2 separate regions of the Homo sapiens genome follow, and region 2 is linked to region 1. Evidence: promoter capture Hi-C in 16 types of primary human blood cells and fetal thymus (Javierre and others, 2016). All regions are on one chromosome and are shown on one strand. The core of a region is centred on a gene start or on the middle of the fragment in contact, and the rest is flanking DNA. Distances in the headings are between cores, read along the strand shown.

Region 1 (5,910 bases), core at 982-3,481:
GTGAATCTTGCTGCAATAAATGTGAGAGGGCAGATACCACTCTGATGTACTGATTTCCTTTTTTTTTGGGGGGGGGTATTTACTCAGGAGTGGGATTGCTGGCTCATATGGTGGCTCTATATTTAGGTTTTTAAGGAATCTCTATACTGTTCTTCACAGTGCTGTACTAACATACATTCCTACCAACAGTGTACGAGTGTTTCTCTTTCTCCACATCTTTATCAGCATTCATTATTGCCTGTATTTTGGATAAAAGCCATTTCAACTGGGATGAGATTATACCTCATCCTAGTTTTGATATGCATTTCTCTGATGATTAGTGATGTTAAGCATTTTTTCATATCCCTGTTGGCCATTTGTATGTCTTTTTTGAGAAATAACCATTCAGGTCTTTTGCTCAATTTTAATTGGATTATTTTCCTATTATATTGTTTGAGCTCCTTATATATTATGGCTATTAATTCTGTGATAGATGAGTAGTTTGCAAGTATTTTCCCCCACTTGATGGGTTGTCTCTTCACTTTGTTGTTTGCTTTGCAGAAGGTTCTTAGCTTGGCATGATCCCATTTGTCCATTTTTGCTTTGCTTGCCTATGCTTTTAAGGTCTTACTAAGAAATATTTGGTTCTGGAGCATTTCCCTAACGTTTTCTTCTAGTAGTTTCAATAGTTTCAAATCTTAGATTCCAGTCTTCAAGCCATTTTGTTTTGATTTTTTTAATATGGCAAAAGATAGTGATCTGTTTCATTCTTCTACATATAGTTATCTAGTTTTTCCAGAACAATTTTTGGAAGAGACCATCCTTTTCCCAACGTATGTTCTTGGCAGCTTTGTCAGAAATTAGTTGACTGTATATGTATTGATTTATTTATAGGTCCTCTATTCTGTTCCGTTAGTCTATGTGTCTGTTTTTATGCCAGCACCATGCTGTTTTGTTTACTATCACTTTGTAGTATAATTTGAAGTCAGGTAATGTGATGCCTCCAGCTTTATTCTTTTGCTCAGGATTGCTTTGGCTATTCTTGGTCTTATTGTGGTTCCATATAAATTTTAGGATTTTTTTCCTCTTTCTGTGAAGAATGTCATTGATATTTTGATAGGGATTACATTGAATCTGTAGATTGCTCTGGGTAGTATGGAAATTTTAACAATATTGATTCTTCCAATCCATGAACATGGAATATATTTCCATTTTTGTGTGTCCTCTTCAATTTCTTTCATCACTGGAAAGATCTCTACAATAAAAACAAAAGTAAATTTCTTCGTGGTACAAGTAAGTCTTTTAAGATAAGAAATTTTAAGATTCCTCCCAAGCAATACTGAAAATTTCCAAAAGGCAGTTATTATCTCTGTTATATTAATCATTATATCCAGAGCCCAACGTGTAGCAAACAGAAGACCCTCTATAATATAGGTTGACTGAATAAATGAACCTCTATATTTTATGGAATTAGTTTGAGGTTTTTATGTTACTTTCATCCCTATAGAGCCATAAAATGAATTTTTTGGTGGGGGCACACAAAATTGCACCACGACAGCTTTTTTCTTTAAAACAAGCACAAGAATAAAGCTAAACGCAAATATTCACCGCACTGGAAAGCACTGCGCGTGCGCTATCTTACGCTATTGGCTAACACCGCAACTCTCAAAGACCCTCGCAAGAGAATCACCTTTGCGCTTGCTCAGTTGTGGACTCCACAAACAGAGGGCGGGTTCCAAAGAAAAGGAAATAGTCATTGCGCCTGCGCCGCTCCTTCTGGGGGGAGGGGGGGGCTTGGGCTGGCTGCGCAGGCGCACAGGTACCATTTTGACCGTAAACATCCTGCCGATTTGAACCGAGGATTTGGGCGGCAGGAAGAGCCGCGGCGTAACGGCAGCCATCTTGTTTGTTTGAGTGAATCGGAAAGGAGGCGCCGGCTGTGGCGGCGGCGGGAGCTGCTCGGAAGCTACACCTCGCAAGGGCTCCCCCCTTTCCCCACCCCCTCCCCCGACCCTTTTCCCCTCCCCGGGCCACCCAGCCCGCCCAACTCCCAGCGGAGAGCAAGGTAAGAGACTCGGCCGACCCCTTCTTTTCCTCCAGCTCCCTCCCCCCACCCTTTCCCCGCCGCTCTGCCGTCGGGGAGCCGGACTCCTGGGGGCGGGAGGGCGAGGGAGAAGGCAGCCCTCGCCGCGCCCACGCGTGCTGCCACCCTCCCGGCGCCCAAGCGGCGGCGCCACCCGCCCAGCCCCCTTCGCCCCGGGCCCGCCCTCGGCCCGGACCCATGCAGCTTGGGCCCGCATCATCGCTTGTTCGGTAACAAATGATTCTGATCCATTCTGAGATCTACAAAGGCTGTTACCCTGCAGGTCCATCTCACGTCCCCCAGGAGGCCGGGGAAACCCTGGGCTGCGGAGGGAGGGGAGGAGGTTTGAACGAGCCCGCTCTGGGGACCGGGCCGCCTACTCCGCGGGTAAAAATGGCTGTCTGGGAGGAGGCGGTGGCGGGCCCGGCGCCCGCGGTGCCAGCCCCGGGAGCAGCAACCTTCCGCCGAACTCGGGTGCGGGGCTCAAGAAAGTGCGGAGCTGGTGGGGCTGGGCGGGGTGGGGCGGGGGGTCGGCGGGTGCCCCTCGGCCAGTGACTGCTGCTGCCCTCCCGTTTTAAAAAGATAATTTTTACGTTGGGAATGCTGAATATTTCACAGACGCGTGGAAAAAGAGACGGAGGGAAGTTGCTTCTTTTTCCAAGGATATTTGCATAATTGGTTTTCCCCTGAACTTTTCTGATCATTCTTTAAAGTGATTAAGGATATCGGGTGTTGTAGAGACGCTCTGGGGGAGGTGTGTGTTTCTGATAAATGCTTGATGCCCTTTTCGTCGCTGAAAAAGGCTTTTTGCGAATGATCCGCTTTGATAGTGTGGGGTGACACTGTCGGGTTGTGCTGCCAGACTTAGCGGCCTTCTTCAAATTTGTAAGAGGGAAACCCTGGGGGATTTACTTGGTCACTCTGATTTGTTAGTGTCTTCAGCGTGAAAAAAAAAACAGCGTTTGTGCGAAGAGTTTCTGGGAAAGGCTTGTGTTTATCGGCTTCTTTTTGCAAGGGAAAGTTAATCTTTGTTGTCATTATACTGGTTAGAAGAGTAATTGGTTTTCAGGCAAAAATTTCTATTTTCTTAAATTGGGTGTAAATGCCAGCGGGCAGTGCGAGTCTATAGAATTTTGGAGACAGGCAGGAGAAGGTTTCTCAAATCGTGAAGTCATTAAATACCTTTGTTAATGTCGGAGGCAACTAATTATTTTTGGAAAGGCATTGATGAGGACATACGCCATATCTGATCTTCAAATAAGTTAACAGTTTGTATAGTTGAGGTGACAGCAGTGCATAACTAATAGACATAGTGCTTTTTTTTATACACAAGTCAGAATTACAAAAGAATTTCTGGTGAATTATTTTGTGAAACATACAAATTCTAAGAAACGCTTTTACAGTTTGGTACAGAATGGAAATTTTCTAATTCTTGAGAAATAAGGTTGTGTTTTTAGTTTAAATGTCAAACCAGAGTTGTTAGGCATGATTATACTGGCTGGTTAATGTTTTGCTGCAAGATTGTCTTCAGAGTTACTTTTCGCATCAGCAGTGGCACTATGTTAGGTGTGCCCTTGTATTTAATTTTCATAATCTTTTTTGATGAATATTATCCCAGTTTATAGTTGAGAAGTAACTTATTCACCGTTACAAAACAACTGAGCAAAGAGGGAGCTTAATTTGAACCTACGACTGTCTGATTGTAAAACTCTTGGTCAAAGGATGTTAGAACCAAAACAGAGGAGATTTCTAGTGTGCAGGGTTAGAAATATCTTCAGAGATCCTTCCCCCTACTCCCCTGAAGAGGTAGCTCCGTTCTGATCTGAGTTAGGTATTGACGTTTTCAAAGGTTAGGTAAACCACCAGATTTCAACCTTTCAGGTTTTCATAGTAGGGAAACTGAACTGCATAAAGGTTAGGCAGCTTAACTGCTAGTTAATGACAATAGCAGGATTATGTCTTTACTTCTGAGATAGTAGTTTTTACTTTGAATAGGTGGTGTACATTTATGTCCCGAGTTAAAATATGTGTGTGTGTGTGTGTGTGTGTGTGTATGTATATATATATATCAAACAGTACAAAAAGGTAGGCCTCACTTGCCCTGCATACCTACTTTCCAGAGGTAACCAGTATCACCAGTTTCATGTGTACGCCACAGGTATTTTAAGCTTATTCAAGAACTCGTAAATATATAGAGAAAGAGCATTCTTTTTTAAAACTCCAACTTTTTTGCACTTAACCTGGAGATTTTCCATGTTAGTACAAATGTTGTATTCTTGTTTAAAGTTGTACTGTACAATTGTCCCTTGATATTAAAGGGGAATTGGTTCCAGAACCAAAACCACGAATGCTCAAGTCGCTTATATGAAATAGTGTAGTATTTGCATATAACCTACTAACATCCCATATACTTCAAATCATCTCCATTTATGATATTACAATGTAAATGCTATGTTAATAGTTAATATAGTTGTTATAGTTTTTTATTAGTAGTATTTTTTATTATTGTGTTTTTTTGTCCCCCCCTCCAACAATTTTTGATCCTGGGTTGGTTTAGTCCATGGATGCAAGAAGCCATGGATAAGGAGGACCGACTATATTCCGTTGTTTGGGTTTATTAATTTTTCATATCACTTATTGATGGCCAAGTAGGTTATTTCGAATGTTCTGTTCTGCTCTGGCAAGGCAGCATAGTGTTGTAGTTAGAAGTGTGGATTCTGAAGTTCAAGTTCCACTTCCATTAAATACTAGTGACATTTACTTATCTTCATCTGTTTTCTCCATCTCTAAAATGGGCCAGTAATTTACTTCTGTAGGACAGTCATGAAGAGGTTGGATACATAAAACACGTAGTGCTTAGTAAGTTTTCTTAGGATTTTTTCGTGTTTGGTTTTTTGGTTTTGTCTTTAGTAATATGCATCTCCAAGTATATCTTTTGTATTGATTACTGAAAGTGCAAGTTCTGGCTAGAAAGTGTAAGTGAAATTTTTATAAAATGTTGTCATATTGTCCTTCAGAGAGGACAGTACCAATTTACACAACCGCAGTCCTGCCATGCTTTCTAATGAGTGAAATATTGGTAATGACTGATACTATCCTAGAAGCATGAGCCTCAGTTTGATTCTTTGAAACAGTCTTAAATTGCCATTTTTTGTATTCTTGAATATGTTCTAAAATAGCAATCTTTCTGCTGTTTCACATCAGACTTTAATTTTTTAGGGTCAATTGAAAAAAACTGCTTGCCGCTTTAGAAAAAAATGATTCTCAAATCATGAAATGCTAAGTTGTGCTCTGGTATCAAATGCAGATTTTCTGCACAGGGTTTTCATAAAGGATTTAGCAGAATATAGAATCTTCAAAATCTAAACAGATTAATCGACTTTTTTAAAGATTGGATGAAGTTTGGTATTATCAAGGAAAAAAAAATAGGCTTAAAAGGCAATTATAATTACACTTTCTCCTTATTCAGATATACACCAGGAGTCGATCCACCACTGCTCCTTTGGCTTCCTTTAGTTATTAGAGTGATTTCCTCTTGCTAATTGTTTCCCACATTAATTTTAGCATCACTCTGCCTTCCTTAGCCCCATCCTATGCCAAACAGGCTTCTGTTTAGGAATCTCTGCCTCTGCATAGCTGGGATATTTTAGGCACGGTGCTCTGACCAGCAGCTGAAGTGCTGGCCAGGAGCTACTGACACCTGTTGAAAAATGCCAGTAGTTTTAATTTTTAAAACGTCTAAAATTTTTTACATATGCCAATTATGAGATCACTTGGTGGATCTTACTTACTTATTCATTAAGCACATATTTAGTAATTGTCATGCCACAGATAGTATTCTAGAAGCT
Region 2 (5,910 bases), core at 1,367-3,866, 84 kb after region 1:
AATTCATCTCATTTTCCACTCCATTGTCAACAGTTTGGTGAGCAATTTTTCCTTCTATTTGCTATATACATTTCTATACTTTATATACATATATATACATATATTCACATGCATCTTCTTGTTTTAAACATACATGAGATCATACTATAGTATGTTCTGCCTCTTGTTTATTTACCTTCCTTGGTAAAGCTCTTCCTGTAGTCATACATGTATCTTTTTTTTTTTTTTGAGGCAGAGTCTTCCTCTGTCCCCCAGGCTGGAGTGCAGTGGTGCCATCTCAGCTCACTGCAACCTCCAACTCGCGGGTTCAAGCAATTCTCCCTGCCTCAGCCTCCTGAGTAGCTGGGATTACAGGCGCCCACCACCATGCCCAGCTAATTTTTGTAGTTTTAGTAGAGATGGGGTTTCACCATGTTGGCCAGGCTGGTCTCAAACTCCTGACCTCAGGTATTCCGCCCGCCTTGGCCTCCCAAAGAGCTGAGATTACAAGCATGAGCCACCGCGCCTGGTCAATACGTGTATCTAATCTTTTTAATGGCTATATAGAATTCTATAAAAGACAGATGTGCCCCATTTCATTTAACCACTCCTCTATTGAGGGTATTTAAGCCATTGACTTTCATTTTCCAATTCACATTTCTGTGTTTTAATTTTTCCTATAAATATGTAATACTTTTTATGCCAAAAAAAAAAAAAAAAAAAAGAAAGAGAGAGAAAAGCTTCAAAACAAGCAAAAATACCATCTCTCAAGAGCTGGCAGCGTGGTCTCCCTCACGCATTGGAGGTGCCACTATCTTTGGCCCTCAGGATTTCAGCCATGTCCTCTGTACCTCTTCCTCTGCAGGCAAGTCATTCAGAATTATCGCTTAACACCCCTCAAATTAGACTCTCCAGTTGTAAAGGCCTAGAGCTACATGTGAATTTTGAGAGCACTCAGTCCCTTGTACTCCAACTTGTCATTAGTAAACAAGTTAATAATAATCGCGCCAGTGGATTGTTACGTGAGAAGAAGGCTGAAGTCCAGGGTGGTCCCTAGGAGGGGACTACATATAATCAGTCATTTCCCAAGAAAACTAGAAACCACAGAAAAAAAGTAAGAATCTCCTTTGTTTTTTCTCTCTTCACAGATTTTTAACTTCAGGGTATGCAAGAATCATAGTCACCTGGTGTTTGTTAAAGATACATTTTAGGAAAGAAGTCATTATACAAAAAAATACTTGCACACGCATGTTTATAGCAGCACAATCGCAATTGCAAAAATATAGAACAAGCCCAAAATGCCCATCAACCAACAAGTGGATAAAGAAACTGTAGTGTGTATGTGATGGAATATTACTCAGCCATAAAAAGGAATGAATTAATGGCATTCCCAGAAACCTGGATGGGATTGGAGACTATTATTCTAAGTGAAGTAACTCAGGAATGGAAAACCAAACCTCATATGTTCTCATTCATAAGTGGGAGCTAAGCTATGAGGATGCAAAGGCATAAGAATGATACGACGGACTTTGGGGACTCTGGGGGAAAGGGTGGGAAGGGGGTGAGGGATAAAAGGCTTCAAATTGGGTTGTGTGTACACTGCTTAGGTGATGGGTACACCAAAATCTCACAAATCACCACTAAAGAACATACTCATGTAACGAAATACCACCTGTTCCCCAAAAACCTATGAAAAATAAAGATACATTATAGGTCTCATCTACAAAGGTTTCTATTTTATTGGTTTAAGTGGGGCCCAGGAATCTGCATGTTAAGCAAGCAATGGTCCAAGTAACGCTGAGGCAGGGGTCCATGCACCACTCTGGAGAAACACTGGCCCCCCTGGAACTGCAGAGCTGGCCACAGCAGAGCAGTTCTGCCTACTGTAGTGATGCCCGCACATCACTGGTGGGAAGGAGGAAAAGTAGGTTCAGTTTGGTGGCTCCCACCTGTAATCCCAGCACTTTGGGAGGCCAAGGCAAGAGGATCACTTAAGCCCTGGAGTTGGAGACCAGCCCAAGTGACACAGCGAGATACCATCTCTGAAAAAAAAAAAAAAAAAAGCCAAGCATGGCAGTGTGTGCCTGTAGTCCCAGCTACTGGGGAGACTGAGATAGGAGGATCACTTTGAGACCAGGAGCTCAAGGTTGCAGTGAGCCATGACTGCACCATTGGACTCCAGTATGGGTGACATAGCAAGAGCCTGTCAAAAAAAAAAAAAAAAAAAAAACGAGGAAAAGTGGGGTCCAGCTCTTGCTTTGTTCCCATCCTTGTGACTTCACAAGGGAGTGCCTAAATATATTCAGAAACATAACACTGAAAGACAGTTAATCTTGAGCAAATACAGAATATGCAACCTAGGAAAGAATAAAGACCCTGAAAGCTGTGGCCTAATGCTAGGAAGATCTCAGGGCTGGTTTAATGAAACAGCTGAGACAAGAAATCAGGCTGCTGCACATTGATTGTACCTGTCAAAGCTTTAGTGTTGAGCAACATAAATTTATTTGGCCTATATTTGGTTATGTTACATTTTTTATTCATTCAGTTAGCCAACTCTGCCAACTATATAAGACGACTTCAAAAGGGCTTTTTCTACCAGAATGGACATAATTTAAATAGGACGGTCAGCTTTTAGACAGGCACAACACTATATATACAGATCTCAAGAAAAACTGGTGCTTCCTTATGTCGTTGGTTCATTTAAGAAATATTTATTGAATACCTCTTTGTCTCTGGTGCACATTTTTATAAAATTACCTTGAGCCCTAGATCAAATGTCACCTCCCTGTCAAGCTTTTCCCAAAGCTCTCAGGCAGAATGACTCTTTGAAAACTATATGTAAATAAATGTATTTATTTACCCATCTATAGTTTATCTTGCCTGGTGTCAAAAAAAAAAGAATTTAGACTGATGTTACATATTATACAATCCAGTGATTTTACGGCTGGAAGGAGTTTTATTATACCACTAATCTCTACATAATAAAAGTCACTATTTACCTACCTGCCTCCCCAAGTGGATCACAAACTTCATGAGGGAAGACTGTATCTTATTCATCACTGAATCCCAGCACATGTAGGTGTTCAGGAAATGAATACAGACACACATATATGAGCAAACACCAAGCAAATGTTATCTTTCAAAGTAGTACCTCGGGAAAGAGTGCATTTTTCAATAATGCTGACACTGCATAAAATTCCTTCCAAATTTGAAATTATCTTCAGAACAAGTTTCAAAAGCACACAAGAGAACAAGAAATATTATTTTGACTTGCTGTTTCATTTTTCCCCAAAACACTTTATTCTCCAGAATTGATTATAAATTTATTTAGGCTGTTTCCAAAAGTCAAATTCCTTCTCAAAGGATGGTGAATCGCCAGAGTGAAGGTACAAATCTCACTGTAGATGACATCTAAATATTTTAGTCTCATCCTGTCATAGCGATTCCATCCCTGTCCCTTACCCAGACCCCCCAAATTACTTAGATTTAAAGATTTCAGTTCAAGCCCCAGCTCTGTCACTTGTTATTGGTTTAAATGTGGGCAAACATTTGAGCTGTCTGAGCCTTAGTTTTCTCATCTGTGATACAGAGAAAATAAGAACCAATATATTTTGATCATTGTGCTATTTTTTAATTAATTAATTTTCAACTGAAAATTAAAATTTTTATTAGTAATATTATTTTTCATTGACATATCATAATTACATACAGTTATGGGATACAATGCGATGTTTCAATATATGTACATTTTGTGGAATGATAAATCATGCCAAATAACATATCCATCACCTCACTTACCTATCATTTTTATGGTGATACATTTGAAATTTACTCAGTTATTTTGAAATATAGAATACATTATTATTGACTATAATCAATAGTGCAATAGATCTCAAAACCTATTCCTCCTGTCTGTCGAAATTTTGTATTTTTTCTTTTTTTTTTTTTTTGTTCAAACTTTGTATTTTGTGATCAACATCTCCCAATTTCCTCCTTCTCCACCTCCCTAGCCTCTGGTAATCAGCATTCTAGTTTCTACTTTTGTGAGTTTGACTTTTTTAGATTCCACATATAAGTGAGGTCAGAGGTATTTGTCTTTCTGTACCTGGCTTATTTCGCTTAGCATAATGTCCTCCAGATTTATCCACGTTATCACAAATGACAGAATTTCTCCCTGTTTAGGTGGAATAGTATTCTATTGTTCATATATACCACATTTTCTTCATCCATCTCTGTTGATGAACACAGGTTGATTGTATATTTGGGATTCTGAAGAATGTTGTAATGAACGTGAGAGCACAGATATCCATTCAACATATTGATTTCAGTGATCCACACTCACTGGATTGATCCACGCTCCTACAAACATGCCCATGAAACGTTTTTGACCTTAACAGTTTCTTCTCAATTCTCTTTTAATGTAGCGTAAGAAAACCCTGGAGGAGAGTGCTGAGGATGAGATTTATAGAGGAGGCTAGCGCTCCCTCTAGGGGCCAAAACAAAGTATCCTCCACAATGTAGAACTGGCAGTGAAGGCAAATTTTTCTTTCTTTCTTTTTTTAAAAATAGAGACCGAGTCTTGCTCTGCCACCCAGGCTGGAGTGCAGTGGCACAATCATACTCCCTGCAACCTCAAACTCCTGGGAATAGCTAGGACTAAAGGCACACACCACCATGACTAGCTAATTTTTTAATTTTTTTGGTAGAGATGGTGTCTCACTGTGTTGCCCAGGCTGGTGTCGAACTCTTGGCCTCAAGCAATTCTCCCACTTCAGCCTCCCAAAATGTTGGGATTACAGGTGTGAGCCAATGCACCTGAAAATTTCATTTTTAAGAAAACATTTGTTGATGTTATAAGATATGGCAACATCACCAGAAGGACCTCAGAGTGACAGATGTAACAACACTCCTTTGATCACACTGTCATTCAGCAAACATTAAGCAACTATTACATACCAGGCACTGTGTAAAGTATAGGATACTTGGATGTTGAAGTTGATGTTGCTTTTTTAAAAATCAGTCTTAGGGTGTACAGTGTGTAGTTGCTGTCCTTCTCTACATATTGTACATTAAATTTTAACGGGATGTTAGAATTAAATTGAACCTCAAAAGGCATCTAGTTCTGCCGCCAAGATATTTCTGAAATTCTCCAATTACATAAATCTTTCTAATGATCAAGATCATGACAGAATTTGGGGGGTTTTGTTATTAAATTTTTAAATACATACATGTTTAAAGTTTTTTTGCAATCTACTTTCTAAGGTAGTCTTAAGAGGCCGGGCACGGTGGCTCACACCTGTAATCCCAGCACTTTGGGAGGCCGAGACAGGAGGATCACGAGGTCAGGAGATCGAGACCGTCCTGGCTAACACAGTGAAACTCCATCTCTACTGAAAATACAAAAAAATTAGCCAGGCGTGGTGGCAGGCGCCTGTAGTACCAGCTACTCGGGAGGCTGAGGCAGGAGAATGGCATGAACCCGGGAGGCGGAGCTTGCAGTGAGCCGAGATCGCGCCACTGCACTCTAGCCTGGGTGACAGAGCGAGACTCCACCTCAAAAAAAAAAAAAAAAAAAAAAGGTAGTCGTAGGAGAAAGTGAATTTTCAAATTTTTTAGGATGTAATTCTATAGAAAAAGCAAATGCATTTGTCATAGGATACCTCAATTTATGCCCATTTTCTGTTCATTTTACCTGGAGACCAAAGTCAGATGAAAGAAATAAGAGGGATGAGCAGCAGCAAATGAAGATAAATTATAAAGTTCTTTATTTGGATGTTGGGTATTGTCTGAGTCCATTTGGCTTGCCATTTAAAAATATCATAAACTGGGTGGCTTCCAAACAACAGAAATTTATTTCTCACAGTTCTGGAGGCTGCAAAGTGCAAGATCAAGATGCCCGCAGATTTGGTGTCTGGTGAGGGCTTGCTTCCT

Evidence for each region. The method cuts DNA at HindIII sites, captures the fragments that hold promoters and counts their contacts. A CHiCAGO score of 5 or more calls a contact.
Region 2: a fragment that was not itself captured here is called in contact with the fragment with the promoter of RAD21-AS1 in region 1 in 3 of 17 cell types (naive CD4 T cells, total B cells and total CD8 T cells); the score reaches 6.4 in naive CD4 T cells.

What each region holds. Positions count from the first base shown.
Region 1 is chr8:116,870,745-116,876,654 of GRCh38, reverse strand. It overlaps RAD21-AS1 (RAD21 antisense RNA 1), which reads right to left and starts at 2,231. Exons shown (of 2, transcript NR_033886.1): 1 at 1,670-2,231; 2 at 1-1,234. RAD21 (RAD21 cohesin complex component) reads left to right here and starts at 1,879. Exons shown (of 14, transcript NM_006265.3): 1 at 1,879-2,044. It overlaps MIR3610 (microRNA 3610), which reads left to right and starts at 1,855; the gene lies at 1,855-1,927. RefSeq lists an enhancer at 1,882-1,931 and silencers at 2,042-2,361, 2,522-2,571. The HindIII fragment of the contact is 5,133 bases long and covers 1-4,232 here.
Region 2 is chr8:116,787,106-116,793,015 of GRCh38, reverse strand. The region is part of intron 2 of LOC112268030 (a long non-coding RNA gene); the gene reads right to left. Among named protein-coding and RNA genes, the nearest start is that of UTP23, 24 kb to the right of the region's middle. The HindIII fragment of the contact is 316 bases long and covers 2,459-2,774 here.